7 separate regions of the Homo sapiens genome follow, and regions 1, 2, 3, 5, 6 and 7 are each linked to region 4. Evidence: promoter capture Hi-C in 16 types of primary human blood cells and fetal thymus (Javierre and others, 2016). All regions are on one chromosome and are shown on one strand. Each heading gives the region's core, a stretch centred on a gene start or on the middle of the fragment in contact. The rest is flanking DNA. Distances are from core to core; before and after follow the strand shown.

Region 1 (2,700 bases), core at 150-2,649, 4.1 Mb before region 4:
CATCAGCATTACAGCCGAAACGCAAACCATCTCAAAACCAAGCCAGTCTTCCATTCCATAGGTGTTCCAAAAGATGAATGAACTTTGTCTCAAGATCCTAATTGCTGAGGCAGTGAGGGATAGAATTATCATCACTATAACAAAATTTAGGGAGGACAGTAAAGAGCTACAGTGACAGACCGCATGGGGACTTGGTGCAATGGCAGGGCTATAGCAGCTCATGACCAGACAACAACCCGATTCATATAACTGGTAGGCAGAATTCACTTTTCTCAGGTTTCTCCATTGTTTACAAAATAGGCTTGCTGGGCACTTTACCAAAATGACTTTTTTGTTTTCATTTTTTTTTTTTGCCTTTTAACATCATTTTTTTTAGCTATTATTAATTTTTTACTTATTTTAACCTTTGTGGTTTTTGTATGAAAACATCATTGAAAATTCCATTCGATTCCATGTATAGATGTAGATCTCTCATACTCTATACTCTAATCAGGATAGTTAGCACATCTATCGCCTCAAACATTGATCATTTCTTTATACTGGGAACGTTCAAAATCTACTCTTCTAATAATAGCTATTTGAAAATATACAATACATTGTTGCTAATTACAGTCATTCTACAGTGCTGTAGAACACCAGAGCTTATTCCTTCTGTCTAGCTGTAATATTCTGTCAACCCACCCCTCTCTATCCCCACCCCTCCAGCCAAAGTGTTTTTTGCTGATTAAGCTTTTCATATTGAAACCATGAAATTTACTTTCACAAATAATACAATATACTTACCTTTTCTACCGCTTTTTCATTAATTAATGGGCCCTGAGTAGTTCCTTCCTCAAATCCATTACCTACGCGCAGGTTCTTCTTCATGGCCTCGGCGAATGCTTTTACAAAGGCATCATGGATGCCCCTTTGCACCAAGAATTGGTTTGAGCAAACACAAGTCTGGACAGGAGACAAAAACAAACCCACACAGTCTGTCAGAAGCTGCAGACCTGACCAGTGAACGTGTGGCTGCTACCGCCTCTCTGTGAAAACACTTCCCTCGGTGGTTGTCATGTGCTCAAACTGCCATTTTCCTCCTCACGTGGGCTTGGCCCCAAAGATAAAAGCACTGAGTCAGTGCATGTTCCCCTCCAGTTCCCTCCACAGCTGCTATGCTACACAGCTGCTATGCATCAGTGATTAGTTGGCAATAAGCACCTGTACACACACACACACACACACACACACGAAAGAAAAGAAAAAAAAGCCACCCAATCCATGTTTTTTTCAAATGGCTTTTATTTTGTTTCCCTGGGGGGTGGGGAAAGAGTGCAATTCTCCTAGGAGACTGTGATGCTGCAGCAACAGCAGAGGCTAAGAGGAATGTGGTCCAACACCAACTTATAGTCTTTTGTTTTGCTGACACAGGGTCTCGCTCTGTCGCCCAGGCTGGAGTGCAGTAGTGATGAGTTCACTGCAGCCTTGACCTCCAGGGCTCAAGTGATTCTTCCACCTCAGCCTCCCAAGTAGGTGGGACTATAGGCACTTGCCACCATGCCCAGCTAATTTTTAATTTTTTTTGGCTGGGCGCAGTGGCTCATGCCTGTAACCCCAGCACTTTGGGAGGCTGAGGTGGGTGGATCACCTAAGGTCAGGAGTTCGAGACTAGCCTGGCCAACATAGTGAAACCCATCTCTACTAAAAATAGAAAAATTAGCTGTAGTCCCAGCTACTCAGGAGGCTGAGGCAGGAGAATCTCTTGAATCCGGGAGGTGGAGGTTGCAGTGAGCTGACATCATGCCACTACACTTCAGCCTGGGCAACAGAGTGAGACTCTGTCACACAAAAAAAAAAAAAAAAAAAAAAAAATTGTAGAGACAGAGTCTCACTCTGTTGCCCAGGCTGGTCTCCAACTCCTGGGCTCAAGTGATCCTCCTGCTTTGGCCTCCCAAAATGCTGGGATTACAGTTCTGAGCCACCATACCTGTCCCCAAGTTGTAGCCTTACAGTGTAATTGATGGTAACATATATTGACATTTTGTATTTATGAAGGAAAATATACTTATTTCAGACAAAACCAAGCTTATTTAGGTTATGTGGAAGGGAAAAACTTAATTACCAAAGGCCAAGGCAAGGATGAAAATTATTTGATAGAGAATATCACACATTTCAGTTTTTTCACAATATAACCTTTCAGGGATATTTACTCTGTTTCTAGAATGCATTTAAAATTACATATTGATGGTACTTTTAAGATGAATGCTTAAGAATATTTAAGAAGGCAGGACCCTGGCAGCAGCTTGGATAGAACTGGAAGACAGGAGCCTTGGCTCAGAGTCCCAGCTCCTCAGCAGATTTGACACTGTGGCCCAAAGACGTCTGATCTCTAAGTCACTTTTTCTTTCTAGAGTTTCATTTCCTCATCTCTAAAATGCAACGTTTGTAGAGCTGATAACTGTGAAGGTCCCTGACAGATCAAATATTCCAGGATTTCCTAGGAAGACATGAGCTCAGGCCTCTGGTCTCCCAGGACAGCCTGGATGCTCCTCTAAAACACTGCTGGCGTGGGCCTGTGCCCTGTAGAGGGCACCTCTGAGGCTCCCTCCATCTCGGGACAGCGAGGCCCCACTGGGTCATAGCAGGCAACAGGGTTTTGAGTTATTCCAGCCACCACCCTCCTCAACATTTTCTTACTTTCTTTCCCTTGGCCTCAGAGAC
Region 2 (2,700 bases), core at 178-2,677, 4.3 Mb before region 4:
AATCACTTGAACCCAGGAGGCGGAGGTTGCAGTGAGCCGAGATCGTGTCACTGCACTCCCGCATGGGCAACAGAGCAAGACTCCATCTCAAAACAACAACAACAACAAACACCTTCAAGGTCTGGCGTGGCGGCTCACACCAGTAATCCCAGCACTTTGGGAGGCGGAGGCAGGCGTTTCACCTGAGGTCGGGAGTTCGAGAGCAGCCTGACCAACATGGAGAAACCCTGTCTCTACTAAAAGTACAATATTAGCTGGGCATGGTGGCGCATGCCTGTAATCCCAGCCACTCGGGAGGCTGAGTGAGGCAGGAGAATTGTTTGAACCAGGGAGGTGGAGGTTGCAGTGAGCCGAGATCGCGCCATTGCACTCCAGCCTAGGCAACAAGGGCGAAACCTCATCCTAAAAAAACAAAAACAAACAAACACCTTCGGGCTTTGTGAGTGCTGGTCTCAGAAAAGCACTCAGTCTTCCTCCAAGGGCTAACTTACTTCTTCAGGAGTTGGGTGCCTTTGAGAAATTTCCCAAACCACTACAGAGGAACAACTTCTCCCTTCGTTCACCACTCTACCAAGCACTTGGCTTTTGTACCTTATTGCAATTATTTATCTTCTAATCTTCTAGAGCCTAGAGAATTAGACTGTAATGTGCCTTAAATGCAGAGGTTTCTCTTACTCTTCTCTGGAGCAATGCAGACGTTTGTTGGTTGAAGGATCAAACTCCAAAGTCCCTCCCAGCCTTGGAACTGTCTCCACGAGTCATAACCATACTTATCTATGTTTAGATAGAGAACTTACGCGTTCGACCCAGCATATTTAGGGGCTCCATTAAAGTAATAATCATTATTACTAAGGTGAATTTACAGGCGTACTAGAACACAACCTAACAAGAGATAATTATTCAAAGCTCACAACGGCACCAAGCACGGTGCTTTCTTTTCCTTCATTAGAAGCCACGGCTTCTCCCCTACCTTTCCCATACCTTTCCCAAAACTCTCTCAAAATTGCGAGCCTTGGTCATGGCCTTTATCACCTCCCGCAGAGACTGAGTCATGCTGGTCATCGTGGACGGTTTTCCAGCCTTTGGGCTTTGCGCAAGAACGAACTTCGGAAGAGCTGGAAAGTCCAGAAGTTAGTGAAAGAAGGAGGACACAAAGGGCGAAGAGCCCGCACCCTTCTCCGCCCCTAGGAGCGCAAGAGGCCGGGAGTCAGGCGAGCTGGCAGCCCCGGTGGTCCGCGATTTGCTCACTGACTTTCCTCGCACCCTTGTGACGAAGCGCGCATGCGCGCTTCGCACCCACCGCCCCGGCGGCTCCCTTGCGGCGCAGCTGCACCAGTTTTCCGAGAGCAGCGCATTTCCCCGCCGGGCGGTTGATGCGGGAGCGCCATGACACAGGCGCCTGCGCAGAGCCGCGCGTTGGCCTCCTGTTCCGCTTAAAGGGGCGGTGCAGAGGCGGCAGGAAGATGGAGTTGGGGAGTTGCCTGGAGGGCGGGAGGGAGGCGGCGGAGGAAGAGGGCGAGCCTGAGGTGAAAAAGCGGCGACTTCTGTGTGTGGAGTTTGCCTCGGTCGCAAGCTGCGATGCCGCAGTGGCTCAGTGCTTCCTGGCCGAGAACGACTGGGAGATGGAAGTACGCTTTCGCTGTCCTCGCTTCCGGCTCCATTACCTAGGTCGGTGGAGCGCACAAACCTCATCCCTTGTGCCTTTGTTTTTCAGAGGGCTCTGAACTCCTACTTCGAGCCTCCGGTGGAGGAGAGCGCCTTGGAACGCCGACCTGAAACCATCTCTGAGCCCAAGACCTAGTAAGTGATGAGGGGAGCGGGAGCCAGTCCGCACGGAGGCAGTTTGATACCAGGTAGCCCTGCGCGTCCTGGGACCTGCCGTGGAGCTGGGCGGACGATGCTGAGGCAGATCTCCAAGCTGCGTAGCCAGAGGAGCAGGGCTTGCGTTGCTGCTGCTGCGCGGAGTTGCGCCCCAGCAGCGGATCTAACACTGCACCAGACTGTCGCTTCGAACGTGATTTGGGGTCCAGGGAGGAAAAGATGGAAATGTAATGTTTAACTCAAATGAAAGGAAATAAGTAAGCGAGAGGTTTGAAACAAATGAACGAAGGCTAAACCTTCTATCGAAAAATGGCAACTTGGAAGTCTCCTTGCTTCCTGTATTGTTTATTTATTCTAGGCCCTAGGCTGACCGGCCAGAATAACAGGTTTGTTGTTGTTGTTATTTTTTTTTAATGCACACCTACTCCTGTTATTTCAGTGCCCCTCTCCAGTTCCTGCACTTAAAAAGTGTAGCTGCCTTACAAGGCCCTCTACTATTTGGCTCCATAACTTAGAACCTGCCTTTCCAGGTTCCAGGCCTATCAAACTTTTACTTTTTTCCAACGGGTCATTTTCTCCTGTCTTTGAAACTTCGTAAAGATCTTTATTACCTGTGCCTGGAATTTTTTTCTTTTCCCTTCCTTGCTAATATTTGTCTTAAAGCCCCAAGCTGAGACATGATTTATCTCTAGGAAGCTTTTCCTGATGTCCTAAGTCTGGGTAAGAGTCCCCTTTTAGGTACTCTTATAGCATCCTGCATGACCCCTGTTACAATACCTTAGTCCGTATTATAATTGCTGTTCATTATTTTATGTCTCCTACTAGACTGCACATCTAGTAAGGAGTATCTGTTTTGTACATTGTTAATTTCCCAAAGTC
Region 3 (2,700 bases), core at 201-2,700, 4.3 Mb before region 4:
TTTTAAATTAAAAATGGGTAAAAGGCCGAGCTTGGTGGCTCACACCTGTAATCCCAACACTTTGGGAGGCCGAGGTGGGTGGATCACTTGAGGTCAGGAGTCTGAGACGAGCCTGGCCAACATGGTGAAACTCCGTCTCTACTAAAAATACAAAAATCATCCGGGCATGGTGGTGGGGGCCTGTGGGCCCAGCTACTCGGGGCTGAGGCAGAAGAACTGCTTGAACCCAGGAAGCGGAGGTTGCAGTGAGCTGAGATAATGCCACTGCACTTCAGCCTGGGCAACATAGCGAGACTCTGTCTCAAAAAATAAATAAATAAACAAGTAGATAAATAAAAATGGGCAAAAGTTCTGAATAGACATTTCTCCAAAGAAGATATTAGAACAGCCAATAAGCACATGAAAAGATGCTCAACATCATTAATCGTTGGGGAAAGGAAAATCAAAACCACCATGACATACATCATACCCACTAGGATGGTTATACTAAAAAAGACATAATAACAAGAATGTGGAGAAATTGGAATACACTGCTGGAGGAAATGTAAAATGATGCAACAGACTTGGAAAACATCTGGCAGTTTCTCACATGGTTAAAGATAGAGTTAACATATATCCCAGTAATTCCACTCTTAAGTATATGCCCAAGAGAATTAAAAACATACGTCTATACAAAAGCTTTTAAGTAAATGTTCATAGCAGCATTATTTATAACAGCCAAAAGGCAGAGACAACTCAAATGTCCATCAACTGATGAATGAATATAGAATTTCATACAATACATATTATTCCACAATAAAAAGGAATTAAGTACTGATACATGCTACAACATGGATGAACCTTGAAAACATTATGCTAAGTGAAGAAGCCAGTCACAAAAGACCACATATTAAATGATTTCATTTATATGAAATTTCAGAAACGGCAAATCTATAGACAGAACATAAACTAGAAAGAAGAGAAGTGACTGCTAATAGGTACAGGGTTTCTTTTTGGGGTAATGTAATGGCTGCACAACACTGAATATATTAAAAACCATTGGATTGTACACTTCAAGTAGATAAATACGGTATGTGAATTATATTTCAATAAAGCTGTTATTTTAAAAATTCTTCCATGAAGTTGATCATGGATACAAGTCAAGGCCAGGTCAAGAACATATAAGCCGGCTGGGAATGGTGGCTCATGCCTGTAATCCCAACACTTTGGGAGGTTGAGGCAGGCGGATCACCTGAAGATCATACTGGCTTGTATGTCTCATATGTTTGTTTGTTTTTTTTTTTTTTTCCGACGGAGTCTCACTCTGTTGCCCAGGCTGGAGTGCAATGGTGCGATCTCGGCTCACTGCAATCTCCGCCTCCCGGGTTCAAGCGATTCTCCTGCCTCAGCCTCTCGAGTAGCTGGGACTGCAGGCGCCTGCCACCAAGCCAGGCTGATTTTAGTATTTTCAGTAGAGACGAGGTTTCACCATGTTGGCCAGGCTGGTCTCGAACTCCTGACCTTAGGTGATCCGCCTGCCTCGGTCTCCCAAAGTGCTGGCATTACAGGCGTGAGCCACCATGCTCGGCTTACTTTTAAAAATCTTTCTTTTTTAAACCAATGCTCTAAACTACGTGACATTTTCTGTTTTATCTCTGTGAGCTTTCCATAGTTACATGATTTTGAAAACAAATCAGCAAAGCACTAGCAAAATGCAAGCTGTATCTTCCGAGATTAGAAGTTATTTGGAAATCTCAGGACTCATCCTTTGGTTCTGGACAATTTATATTGAAGGGTGGGTACCAGTTATTCTTTTGGCTCATGGCTGAAATAATGTTATTACAGCTGATCTGTTTTGACTTCACGAAGTGAAAAGTAGTAATTGGGGTCCCAATGGACTTCTAAAATCTCAGAGTAGCCAATGAGTATATAAGCATTGCTTATGTGGAGTATTGACCTTTGCTAAGTACTTACATAACTGTGTTTTAAAGAGCACATTAGAGCTTTGAAAAATGGACTCAACGCTTTTTGGTGCCAAGGACGTGCGACTCGGCGGCAAACGTTTCGATGAAGACAGTGAACCACCTAAGGGGCAGGCTGTAGGTCTGAGGTCTTGGGGGATTCTAACAGAAAGTGTGTTCTGACAGCAGTGGGTAAAAATCCACGAGTCAGACTGGGCTGCTCCTCTCCTAAGCCACAGCAGCAACGTCTGAACAACGTCTTTGACCTTGTTCGAAGCTTGAGGACCGCCCTCCCTGCCTGCGCACGTGGCGGGGTGGGGACAGAGGCAAGTAGCACTAACATGAGACATCTGCTCCCGCACGCCGTTTAAATTCCAGGTGTCGAATTGAGTTCTAGGTTTGTTGCCGCAGGATACCGCGGGGCCGACCCCCAGGACTAACTAATTATAAGAATCGAAATAAGAATCTTCCAATCTCCAACACACACTTTCCTTTTCCTTCTTTGCTCCGCCCCTACCCTCGCCCACTCTCCGCCGACTTCCGCAGTTTTGGCCCGCCCAGGTCGCTAGTTCGGCTCTGTCACGCGCCCAGCCTGACTCTGAGAGGCTGACGAGACTCGGGAAGTGCGACTCCATCCGGGTGTTTTGTTGAGGATGGTTGAGGGCGTGCTTTTATGACGACATCGGGGCGGGGCGAAGAGCCAACTCAGGAGACTGGGACTTCCTGAAGAAGGGGGGCGGAAGGAGTGGCGGGGAGCCCC
Region 4 (2,700 bases), core at 97-2,596:
GCCCGACTCCCCTCCACCTCCCCCAGCCCCTTTGTTGCCGGGAGTTACAGATCCTAAAATGTGTCAAGCGCAGCCCCGCCGATCCCCTGCGCTCCGAGCACGCCGCAGGGACCCCCGGCCGCCAACGAGCCTCCAAGGCCGACTGGGGGCTAGCACCCCAACAGTCCCCCGGTTTCAACCCCTCAGAGCCCCCCACACCCCAGTTCACTACTCCCTCCCCCACCCCCTTCTCCATCCGGGGCGTGACCCCTTCCTACGCCCGAGAAAGAGGAAGCTTCGAGTTGGAGGGGAAGGGAGAGTGGGGGTAGGGAAAAGTGCAGGAAAAGAAGGGGGGGCCGCGAAAAGTTTTGGAGTGTTTGATGTGGTTCGCGCCAAGGCAATCCCCGCCGCCCCGCGCGCCTGGCCGAGCCCCCCGACCCTCCTGGCGCCGGGAAGAGCACTCAGGTCTAACAATGAACCCTCGTTGGAGGGGCAGCCCCCGAGGCCCACGATGCTCGGCCCAGTGCTCTCCCCGAGCGGCCCGCAGCGCGCCCACGACCCCGCGCGGTGCGAGCCCACCTCCCGCCGGGGCTGGGGACGGTGGGGAGGGAGGGTATTACCGGAGGGCCGCCGCCGCCGCCGCTGCCGCCGCGTCCCAGCGCTGGTGGCTGCTGCAGCAGCCCGGCTCTGCTGGAGGGTCCGTGCGGCGTGGTGTAGAGGAGGCTGCCGGCGGTCTGCTCCGCGCCGGGGGCACTGGGGAGGAGGGGGCCGGCGGCTACGGCGCCGCTTTGGAGGGAGGAGGAACAGGAGGTGGTGGAAGTGTTCGTGGTGAGGATCTGGATGTACGCGCCCGGGGCGGCGGCAGCGGCGGCGGCGGCGGCGAAGCCGGGGCTGGCTAGCAGTGCCCTTTTGTCCATGGAGGCTGCAGCGGCGGCGGCGACGACAGCCGCCCCCTCCCCACCCCCGGCGGTCACCAGGTACTGCTCCAGAGCGGGCTGGATTCCCTTTCTCATCTCTCGCTCCTGCTCTTTTTAGTGTTATGGTATATTAATGTATTGTTTTCAATTTCTTTATTATTTGCAGTCGGAGTTTCCAAGTCTCTCCTCCTTCTCTCCTCCCCGCCCGGCGCTTCCGAGCCCCCTCTCTCTCTTTTCTTTTTATTTTTCCGCACCGCACAGGCCCCGGGGGCCAAAAATAATCGGGGCTCTGGAGAGAGGAGGGTCCCGGCCGCACGGATATCGGGCCCCAAGCGGGGATGGAGGCGTCGGGGGCGGCCGATGCAACGGATTGCGAGGCGGCGGCGGCAGCCCGGGTGCTGCGGCCGGCAGCTGAAAAATGGCTCCAGGAAGCTGCTGCTGACAATGAATGAAGGGATACGGTTTACGCGCCAAGGTCCTCCCGCGAAACTCGGATTTCCCGCCGGCTTTTCAAACCATATTTGCATATCCCCGCCCCTCAACCCGCCGAGGACCGTTCCCACAGCCCATTGGGCCGCTACCTCCTTACTTCAGTCCCAATCATGGAGCAGGGCCGCGACTTGCTGGTTTCCATTGGCTGCCGTGCATCATGGTTACCGGGGCGACAGGGACCCTATTTGCATAGGCCTCCTTGATTGGCTGGCAGAAGAGCAGTTTTTAGGGGGTGGGGCAAAGAATTTCCTTCTCTCCCACGGAAGACCACGCCTGGCCTAGGCTCCGCCCCTGTCCCCGCCCGCCCGCCGGGCCGGCGCTACTGACCTGGGCAGGGACTCCGCGCCCCGCAGACTCAGTGTAGATCTAGTCTAGAGCCCAAGTTTCGCTTTTGGAAATTGTCAAGGTGACTAAGGGAACACTCTTTCCTTTGACCAGTCAGTGCAATAAACGAACAGCGCAGGAGATTTTTCCAGATACGTGCCAAAGGCAAGTTGGACCATGCGGACGATGTCTGGCAGGTGCAAAAGGAGCCCTTTAAATCGTGGGCTTCTCCCTTCCTGAAATCCAACCAATGACGCGGCGAGAGCTGATCCCGAGGCCGGGGCTGATAGACAGAAGCATGTGGGCAGACAGAATCGTGGGGGCAGAAGGTTCAGCAGACGCGATTGCGGGCACCAGTTAACATTCCAGATCATTCCCGGTACCTTCATTATTAGCCTGGATAGGGGTAAAGTACAAATTAACTCTTTTGTCTTACAACGGATATTGGTTTGAATCCAGCAGACATTCCCTCTGGCCCAGAAACACCCAGGGCAGTTAATCAGGGCTAACCTAGAACTGATCTACGGGTTTCTAATCCGCCAAGCAGTAATCCGAAAAAGTACACGCTTCCCACGATGACGTCGTGCCCCCAACGAACGCAGGCACGCCCAGGCATCAGCACTTTATATCTTCAGTTTTGTAGGAAGTTCTCTGACTGGAAGCAAACACAACGACTCAAACCTATCCCAAAGTATTTTTAAAATAGTGTCTTTTTTTAAAAAGTAAACTAGAAATTGTCATCAGAAAAATATAAAATGATGTGTCAAACTGACTCCTGAATTTGTTCAAGTATTCATGGGTCTTAAAATTAAAGCTTGCTCCTGAGATTGAGCAGGAAAAGAGACCCCTGCAGGAATGTGGGGGAAGTTATGTATGTAGAGACTAGATCATAATTTATAGTTACGTGCAAAACAGCTGCAGAATTGGTGCTCATAGGTGATGAGGATTGCAACACCTTGAGCCCTTTCACAAGATTTTTATTACTATT
Region 5 (2,700 bases), core at 5-2,504, 4.4 Mb before region 4:
TATTTAAAAAAATACCCAAGGGAAATTTGAACACTGACTGAATATTTTGGGATGGTAAGATATGAGTTGTTTAAGGTTACCTGATGAGCAATGGGTTAAAAAAAGAGATTAGTTGTAATGACAATATTGTGGGTTTTATTGTAATAGCTTCTACCTATAAATGGTAATTACAGATGAAATTTTATACCATATATTTTATTTGAAATAATTATTGAGAGAAGCAAGGGAAAAGGTATAAATCAAGCTTTCTCAGTATGGGCTCTATTGACATTTTAGACTGGGCAAATTGTTCGTGGTGGGGGCTGTCCTGGGCATTGTATGCTGTTTAGCAGTATCCCTGGCCTCTACCCTCTAGCTACCAGGAGTACATCCCAATTGTGAAGACCAAAAATGTCTGCAGACCTTGTCAGATAACCTTCCGCAGGGCAAAATCATCCCCAGTTGAGAACCACTGGTGCGAATAAAACAGTATTGGCCTTGTGTTGATAACTGCTGAGGCTAGTATGGATGAGTACATGAAGATTTTTTATTCACTCCCTCTACTTTTATATCTGTTTGGGATTTTCAATAATAATTTTTTTTTTTGAGACGGAGTCTTGCACTGTCACCAGGGCTGGAGTGCAATGGTGCAACCTCGGCTTACTGCAACCTCTGCCCCCCCCGGGTTCAAGCGATTCTCCTGCCTCAGCCTCCCAAGTAGCTGGGATTACAGGTGCCCGCCACCACACCCAGCTAATTTTTTGTAGTTTTAGTAGAGACAGGGTTTCACTATGTTGGCCAGGCTGGTCTTGAACTCCTGATCGTGTGATCTGCCCACCTTGGCCTCCCAAAGTGCTGGGATTACAGGCGTGAACCACTGCACCTGGCCAATAATAAAATTTTTAAAATATTAATTTAAAAAGGATTAAATGATGGGATAAGGAGGTAGAAATACTGGAAAATGTTTAGCCATAAAAATTTCAGCAACCACTAGGCACCATGGCTCATGCCTGTAATCCCAGCACTTTGGGAGGCTGAGGCTGGCGGATCACCCTGAGGTCAGGAGTTCAAGACCAACCTGGCCAACATGGTGAAACCCTGTCTCTACTAAAAATACAAAAATTATCCAGGCATGGTGGCATGCGTCTGTAATCCCAGCTACTCAGGAGGCAGAGGCAGGAGAATAGCTTGAACCCAGGTGGTGGAGGTTGCAGTAAGCCAAGATCACACTACCACAATCTAGCCCAGGTGACAGAGTGAGACTCTATCTCAAAAACAAAACAAAACAAAACAAAACAAAACTTTAGCAACCACAAATATTTACACCAATTTTTTTATTTTTATTTTTATTCAGATGGATAAATAATAATTACATTGCACCAATTTATTTTTTGACAAACCATTTCTTTGATGAGTATAAGCACAGCTAAGAGAAGTGAAATGATGAAACACATTACTAATGAAGGTTTTGGGACTTGAGACTCAGATGATGTTAAGAATAATATACTCAGGATTGGCCGGGTGCAGTGGCTCACCCTGTAATCCCAGCACTTTGGGAGGCCGAGGCGGGTGGATCACGAGGTCAGGAGATCGAGACCATCCTGGCTAACATGGTGAAACCCCATCTCTACTAAAAACACAAAAAAAAGTTAGCCGGGCATGGTGGCAGGTGCCTGTAGTCCCAGCTACTCAGGAAGCTGAGGCAGGAGAACGGCGTGAACCCAGGAGGCAGAGCTTGCAGTGAGCGGAGATCGCGCCACTGCACTCCAGCCTGGGCGACAGAGTGAGACTACGTCTCAAACAAAAAGAAAAAAAAAAAGAATAATATACTCAGGATCTTCAGGGGATTATTTTAGTGCAGAATTATTTAAAGGATTGAAGATGGTCTAGAAGGTGGCCCCTGGGCATTAAATATGTTTTGTTTCACATACACAATTGTGGCCTACACATTGTCTTAAAATGGAAATTGTCTGTATTTTAAAAATCGGATGATTTCCATAAGCAAAGACAAATGATAAAGTAAGAGAAAATATAGGGAATTTCTTTTACACATAAAAGACTACATTCCCTAATTTTTAAAGAGCTATAAAACATTGAGAGGGAGAAGCCAACAGCCCAATAGATAAATCGGCAAAAGACAGGAATGGACGGTTCAGAGAAAACGATAGAGGAATGGTCCTTAAACATACAAAACCATGCTCAACTTTACTGAGAATAAGAGACATGCAAATTAAAACTCTGAAAAACTATTTCAACTATCAGACTAGCAGCTATAGAAAAGCTTGACAACATACTTACAGTAGATAGAATTCTAAAATGCCACCCATTATCTCTGACCTCTGATTATGCCTATGATTAGGTTATTCAATAAGGCAAAGGTGGTGGGATTTTATAATTGTAATTAAGGCCCCAAATCGGTATACTTTAAATTATCGAAAGTGAGATTATCCTGTTGGCCTTGACGTAATCATTAGGATGTCCTTCAACAGAGGGCTTAGACTTTTTTTGATGTATCTCTTACTGGCCTTGAAGAAGCAAGCGGCCATGAGTATTATGTCTCCAAAGAAATGAATTCTCCCAACAATTGGAATGAGTTTAGAAGCAGATCCTTCTCCAATGAAGCCTCTAGATGACAATGCACTGGCCAGCACTTTGTTTACAGCTCTGTAAGACCCTGAGCTCAGGGTCCAACTGAACTTTGTTTAGATTCCTGTGGCGCAG
Region 6 (2,700 bases), core at 171-2,670, 4.0 Mb before region 4:
AATAAAGGTAAAAGGCATTTGCTGATTACAAATGCCTTTCAATGTTTTAATGTCACAAATTAGAGTGTAACCGGGATTGAGATTGTGAACGTCAATGCTTGTCCTAAAAGTTTCCTCCAACTTGCTGAAACTGGATTCCCAAGCATTATCAATTGAGGGTGCAGAGCATGTAACCCAACTTAGCCTCTCCAATAAGTGGAGAATGAGGTGCTGACGAGGAGTTACTTTGGGAGGCTTTTGAGAGCACAATTGAGAAAACATATTTGAGGACACTGCTATGTTCTTAATAAAGTCATTCATTTCAATACCTTTTATTCCTCAAATATTTGCACTCACATTTGTGAAAATCTTAACTTTTCACCATGCTTCAACATTTGGTGAAAAAATAAACAGCAAATAAGATTTTTTTTTCTCAATCCGATCTCCCTGGCTGTTTACTTATAGAGTACTGTAGTTGAAAGTAAGTCGTTCTCAGAAACAACTCAGTCTTTAGCCTCACTTCTAGGTGCGTCCCCAATCTCCGTGCAACTGGACAACTGTATAAATGTGTCCATAACGAAGAAACAGAAAACAGGGAAGTATTAATTTATACTTATGACTTCCGAACAGATGAAATCCTTGTTTAAAAACACCTCTCGGCCAGGTGTGGTGGCTCACGCCTGTAATCCCAGCGCTTTGCGAGGCTAATGCGTTAGGATGGCTCGAGGCAAGGAGTTTGAGTCCAGCCTGGGCAACATAGTAAGACCCTGTCTCAAAAACAACACAGAAAAAACCTCTTACAAGAGCACTTAAGCGGGTGTTAACTAACGTGATCACGGTCTGTAAACGATTCCTAGGTTGTTCCTATGGTTACATAATCTGCAGCAAGGGCGGTGGAGGAGAAGGCAGAGGGTTGGCCGCTGGGACCCCGGCAGGGCACAGCGCACATAGCAAGGTCGCATTCTGAGCGAGTGGGACGCAGCTCGGCCCGCGGGCCTGTGCAAGCTCACAGGACACGCGGGAGGCCGAGGCCTGCGGAGGGCGCGGAGCAACAGGCGCGCCGCGCCGGACGGCTGGGGCAGCAGTCTAAGGTCACTGCAAGACCAGCGTCCCAAGGCTGTTGCCGGGGAAGGGCAGTACCTGCCACGCGGAGCCGGTCGGGCCCGCAAAGCTGCGCCGCTCGGCTCCTTCCAATCAGGTTGGCTCGGCGGCCGCAGGCAGCAACGGGAGGACCCACAGAGGTCACGTCCAAGGCCAGGGCACACAGCGTCCGCCGGGGAAGTCTCATCGCGCGGGGCAGGAGGCAGGGTAAACTGCGCAGGCATTCCATGGTGCTGGAGCAAGAAGCAGGCAGCAGCCAGACCCCAGACCTTCATGCCGGACGCTGGCTGCTCAGGCCGCAGCTCTGACCTGTCGCTACCGCCCGACCTGCAGACTCTGTGCACCAGGCATGCGCGGGGCGTGCCGCGCCTGCGTGCTACTTCCCCACGCATGCTCGGAAGGTACCTGTGGGCGAGCCTGTTAAGTCCACAGCCAATAGACGTTTGCTTGCCTACCTGTACCTGCACCTGTACCTAAGTGAGGGGGCAGGCGGGCTGGGAGATGGGTGGAGCACGTTTACCTGCACTAAGTGAGCTGTCCAACCTAGGTTCTTGGGCGCTTGGAGTGTCATGGTTTTGTAGTTTGTGGAGAATTTTCATACCTATGAAAATTGCAGTTTGGAAATGAGCAGGTTACCCATTCCCACATCATTTAATTTATATTTAAATTTAACGTGGTGTAGGGAGCAAGAGGGAAAGCTCCTACTTTTGCCCTCTGAAAGTTGCTGGAATGAACTAAGTAGACAGATTAGCAGGAGAAAAAGGCATACAAAATTTGCTTAACGTGCATAGGGAAAAATCACAGAAGAGTGATTACTCAATAACTCAATTAAGGTCCAGATGCTTGTATACCCTTCTTTGTTGAGTAGAGGGAGATAGGTATGAATGGGCCCGAAAGCCAGACAGTGGTTTGCAAATGATTCTCCTTGGACATTCAGTGGGACAGAAGTACAAACAATCGCTTGTGGACAAGCTGTGAAACTTCACTCTGAACAAAAATTGTCCTATTATACAGGTAAAGTTTCCCAGGTAATCTCTTGGAGCTACCCTCAGAAGTATCTATGAAAAGTCTCAGTGTGGCTATGACTTTCAGTTTTTGTCTCTTCTCTGGGTGATTAATCTCTTCTGATTATTTAATGCGATTCCTAAGGAACGGGTTTTAAGACAATTGCATTTCTTTGGAAAAGAGTTTTCTCTGTCAGATAAGGAAATTCCTTATCTGGCTGTGCAGGAAAAGAGAGCCCCTTCAGGTGCTTGGAAAAAGTAAGAGTATCAGAGAGACAAAAGGAAGGGGGAAGGTGAGAGAGAGAGGCCTTGATTTTTAGGCTTCTTTCTGAGACCCTTTTAATTTCCTTTAATTCAAAGACTCAACATGCCACCGGGCGTGGTGCCTCATGCCTGTAATCCAGCACTTTGGGAGCCAAGCACTTTGGGAGGCCAATGTTGTGGACCACTTGAGGTTAGGAGTTCAGGACCAGCCTGGCCAACATGGCAAAACCCGTCTCTACTAAAAATACAAAAATTAGCCGGGTGTGGTTGCAGGTGCCTGTAATCCCAGCTACTTGTAAGGCTGAGGCATAAGAATTGCTGGAATCCAGGAGGTGGAGGTTGCAGCGAGCCC
Region 7 (2,700 bases), core at 14-2,513, 4.3 Mb after region 4:
AGATCTTGAAATAATTACAAAATCATAATAGGACTACACAATGAAAATTCCAATATGTTGTGTTATATCTTGTATTCGACTGCAAGTTATGACAGTGAAGCGCAAAGCTTTCACAAATCGGCTTTAAATAATAATTTTAAAAAGTCTATTCTGATTAATACAGACAGCTAAAACATCCTTAAGCATGCAATCACTTGAATATTTTGCAAGATATTTTCAGGAGTACCAAGAACTCAATATACCATCTTCATTCAGAAACAAAATTAAACGTCTGCCTCAACCTTTAAAGCTCGATTACAAGGCAAAGTGGAAATTTCAAATTCAAATGATAAGTATTTCAAAATGAGTCTTTATCAGTCCTTTGGTAAAACAAACAAGCAAATGTCATGTAAAAAACTCTTAAAGGATAATGCTCATTCATCATTACTTAAAATTTTTAGAATCACATTTTTCATATGCATGGCAAATTTCTCAGCCAAAGAATTATGAAAAACATTAGAACTTAGATCCAAAGCTTGCTATGTCTTCAAAGTAGCTGTTTTCCTTTTTAATTTTTTGATATGCCACTGTAAGATTGAAGTCTCCTGCCTTTCAATAAATATTAAATATCAATTTCCTAGTTTGGCTCATTCTTGAGAATCAAGTATTAGAGTCAGTCCAGGGGAGAACATATTTTGTTTGAAAAATGAGACCACATGCTTCAGTTGTCTACCACTGTTGGTGGTGTTTTACAACGTAGAGAGATAAATTCAATCTATACTCACCAATCGTGTGTAACATATCTGTGGGTTGGAATTCAGTTACAGTAGCCTTAGAAGAGTTCATGAAATTACATTTTCAAGAAACTTAAAAACTTTAAAAATTCTGCATGAAGTCAAACAGAGCTCTTGGCTGCACACTGTAATCTGACACTAGGCTGAAGAAACTGACCAAGTTTAAGTAACCCAAGAGGAACTGTTTCCTGCTTTCTGTTAGAACAGTCTGCAATGACCTATAGTAACACTGCTGAGGCAGAGGTTACTATCGGGCATTAGATGCTGCTATCAGGAAGTCAGTCACTCGGGTAGGGTGGTTTCTTTTTTTTTTTTTTTTTTTCCTGGGGTAGCACTTATCTCAAGTGTTTGTAAGAATTCAACCCTGCTCACCCATCAAGTTTATAAAGACAAGAAAAACTAAAAGAAGGATTGGAAAATGCACTCAGACCAAGTAGGTAGCTCCCCCTCCACCTCAACAAAAGGACCTGCATGGAAAACCTAAGTTAAGATGGAACTCCGCATCAAAACAAACTTGCCTGTGAGTATCTCTGGGAAGGTGCAGCGGCCCTTCTAAAGGGAACCAAAGGTCAATTTGACATTGGTTTATTTTAGCTCACTTTACCTAGTCTGCTCCTGTAAGATGAGATGAGGCTCCACGAAGAACTTGACTCTAAGTTTAAGCCTGTAAGGGGCTAGCCCATCCATCTGCTGGGAGATCCGGTTTCTCAGGTTTAGCCATAAACTTTCACCTTTGCTACCCGTAAACTGCAGTCCAAAATAGTCAACTTCTATGATTCCCAGTCGCCTGCACACCTAAAACAAAAAGGAATGCAGCCTGGATGAGCAAATGGTACGTATCAAAGCAAACCCAACGGCTCCCTGAGGCTAAGATTGCTGGTGCTTTTTACAAAGTTCAATGGTGTTACAATTCCTGATCTAAACTGGAAAAACAAAGTTCCACGGCTCCAATGATACCAAACCACGAGCTCTAGTATGGAGGCTCATAATTCCTTTTAACGTCTAGGGCATGACCAATTGCAATAGAGAAAAAAGGAGTCCTCAAAAGTAGCCTTCCAAAAGATGAGGAGGGGAAACTACAGGGTATTTTCCTTCGTATTCCAATCACCGGAATTCCCTCCACCAGCATACTCTGCACAGCTGATTTTTGGCGACTTATTATCTGGGCAATTTTAACCATTTGGACTCCAAAAATCAAACACATTGAGGGAACACGCCACAAGTGTCAGCTAAGCTTCACAAGCGGTTTTCCAAACATCTCAGAGCTAGAGGGGTTGAGGGCACAGCGTTTTCCTGGGATCACATGTGCTGTCTGCCATACCACCTCTGCACTATTTGGCACCGATCTCCCTCACTGTTAAGGAAACACATGCTTAAAAACAACCGAGCAGTAGATGACCCAAACCTATTCCTCCCGTCCCCCGCAAACCCGGAGATGCAGGTGAACGGTGCATTTGAGAGCAGCAGCCTGAGAAGCAGCGTGAGACAAGGGCCCGGCTTGTCTGCCAAGAACCCCTGGGGCCCGAGACTGCTTCGAGCCACTCCATCCCATCCTGGCACGCGGGTGGCACTGCCAGGCGCCGCGGGGACCCGACAGGCGGCATCACGCACATACCTGCGGCAGGTGTGCGGAGCCGCCTTCTTCCGGGAAAGTGCTGGGTTGGGGGGATGATGGGGCGCTGGGGGGTGGATCCCGGCTGCGGGCTGCGCCCGGCCCTCAGCGCTGGGGACCCCCGCTGCGCGCTTTCTCCGCGCACCCCACGCGCGCCAGGAGGAGACCGCGCGCCCCACGCCCGTGGAGAGGAGGGGACGCGCTCCCCCCGGCTGCCGCCGCAGTGCCTCCCGGCCCCTAGTAGGGGGCGCGCCAGAGTGCCAGGCGTCGCTGCGAGGCCCCTCGGCCTCGCGGGACCCGCCGGGGCCCCTTCTT

What was found. Contacts are between HindIII fragments. The CHiCAGO score rates a contact against its expected background, and 5 or more counts as called.
Region 1: a contact is called between a fragment that was not itself captured here and the fragment with the promoter of E2F3 in region 4, in 2 of 17 cell types (fetal thymus and total B cells). The highest score is 9.8, in fetal thymus.
Region 2: a contact is called between the fragment with the promoter of TDP2 here and the fragment with the promoter of E2F3 in region 4, in 4 of 17 cell types (fetal thymus, M0 macrophages, M1 macrophages and 1 more). The highest score is 16.3, in fetal thymus.
Region 3: a contact is called between a fragment that was not itself captured here and the fragment with the promoter of E2F3 in region 4, in 1 of 17 cell types (fetal thymus). The highest score is 19.6, in fetal thymus.
Region 5: a fragment that was not itself captured here is called in contact with the fragment with the promoter of E2F3 in region 4 in 1 of 17 cell types (fetal thymus); the score reaches 9.7 in fetal thymus.
Region 6: a contact is called between the fragment with the promoter of MRS2 here and the fragment with the promoter of E2F3 in region 4, in 3 of 17 cell types (M0 macrophages, M1 macrophages and M2 macrophages). The highest score is 7.4, in M0 macrophages.
Region 7: a contact is called between a fragment that was not itself captured here and the fragment with the promoter of E2F3 in region 4, in 1 of 17 cell types (total CD4 T cells). The highest score is 6.2, in total CD4 T cells.

Annotation. Positions count from the first base shown.
Region 1 is chr6:24,521,009-24,523,708 of GRCh38, reverse strand. ALDH5A1 (aldehyde dehydrogenase 5 family member A1) reads right to left here. Exons shown (of 10, transcript NM_001080.3): 7 at 784-942. Among named protein-coding and RNA genes, the nearest start is that of ALDH5A1, 27 kb to the right of the region's middle. RefSeq lists silencers at 1,206-1,255, 2,625-2,674. The HindIII fragment of the contact is 1,335 bases long and covers 732-2,066 here.
Region 2 is chr6:24,665,626-24,668,325 of GRCh38, reverse strand. TDP2 (tyrosyl-DNA phosphodiesterase 2) reads left to right here and starts at 1,427. Exons shown (of 7, transcript NM_016614.3): 1 at 1,427-1,628; 2 at 1,715-1,800. The coding sequence starts at 1,464. ACOT13 (acyl-CoA thioesterase 13) reads right to left here and starts at 1,249. Exons shown (of 3, transcript NM_018473.4): 1 at 982-1,249. The coding sequence starts at 1,062. RefSeq lists enhancers at 1,211-1,505, 1,037-1,708, 1,709-2,381. The HindIII fragment of the contact is 8,130 bases long and covers 1-2,519 here.
Region 3 is chr6:24,721,178-24,723,877 of GRCh38, reverse strand. No RefSeq gene overlaps it. Among named protein-coding and RNA genes, the nearest start is that of C6orf62, 3.4 kb to the right of the region's middle. RefSeq lists enhancers at 1,881-1,970, 2,021-2,070, 1,662-2,455, 2,201-2,700. The HindIII fragment of the contact is 1,539 bases long and covers 681-2,219 here.
Region 4 is chr6:20,400,525-20,403,224 of GRCh38, reverse strand. It overlaps E2F3 (E2F transcription factor 3), which reads right to left and starts at 1,346. Exons shown (of 7, transcript NM_001949.5): 1 at 600-1,346. The coding sequence starts at 992. LOC124901482 reads left to right here and starts at 453. Exons shown (of 3, transcript XM_047419652.1): 1 at 453-800; 2 at 845-956; 3 at 1,063-2,484. The coding sequence starts at 453. The coding sequence ends at 1,670. RefSeq lists silencers at 1-11, 212-681, 1,532-1,771 and an enhancer at 909-1,433. The HindIII fragment of the contact is 2,252 bases long and covers 277-2,528 here.
Region 5 is chr6:24,771,404-24,774,103 of GRCh38, reverse strand. No RefSeq gene overlaps it. Among named protein-coding and RNA genes, the nearest start is that of GMNN, 2.2 kb to the left of the region's middle. The HindIII fragment of the contact is 2,016 bases long and covers 247-2,262 here.
Region 6 is chr6:24,401,656-24,404,355 of GRCh38, reverse strand. MRS2 (magnesium transporter MRS2) reads right to left here and starts at 1,420. Exons shown (of 11, transcript NM_020662.4): 1 at 1,120-1,420. The coding sequence starts at 1,309. RefSeq lists an enhancer at 49-783 and a silencer at 2,541-2,700. The HindIII fragment of the contact is 7,340 bases long and covers 1-2,700 here.
Region 7 is chr6:16,129,425-16,132,124 of GRCh38, reverse strand. MYLIP (myosin regulatory light chain interacting protein) reads right to left here. Exons shown (of 7, transcript NM_013262.4): 2 at 1,378-1,568. Among named protein-coding and RNA genes, the nearest start is that of MYLIP, 1.7 kb to the right of the region's middle. RefSeq lists a silencer at 2,358-2,700. The HindIII fragment of the contact is 1,493 bases long and covers 517-2,009 here.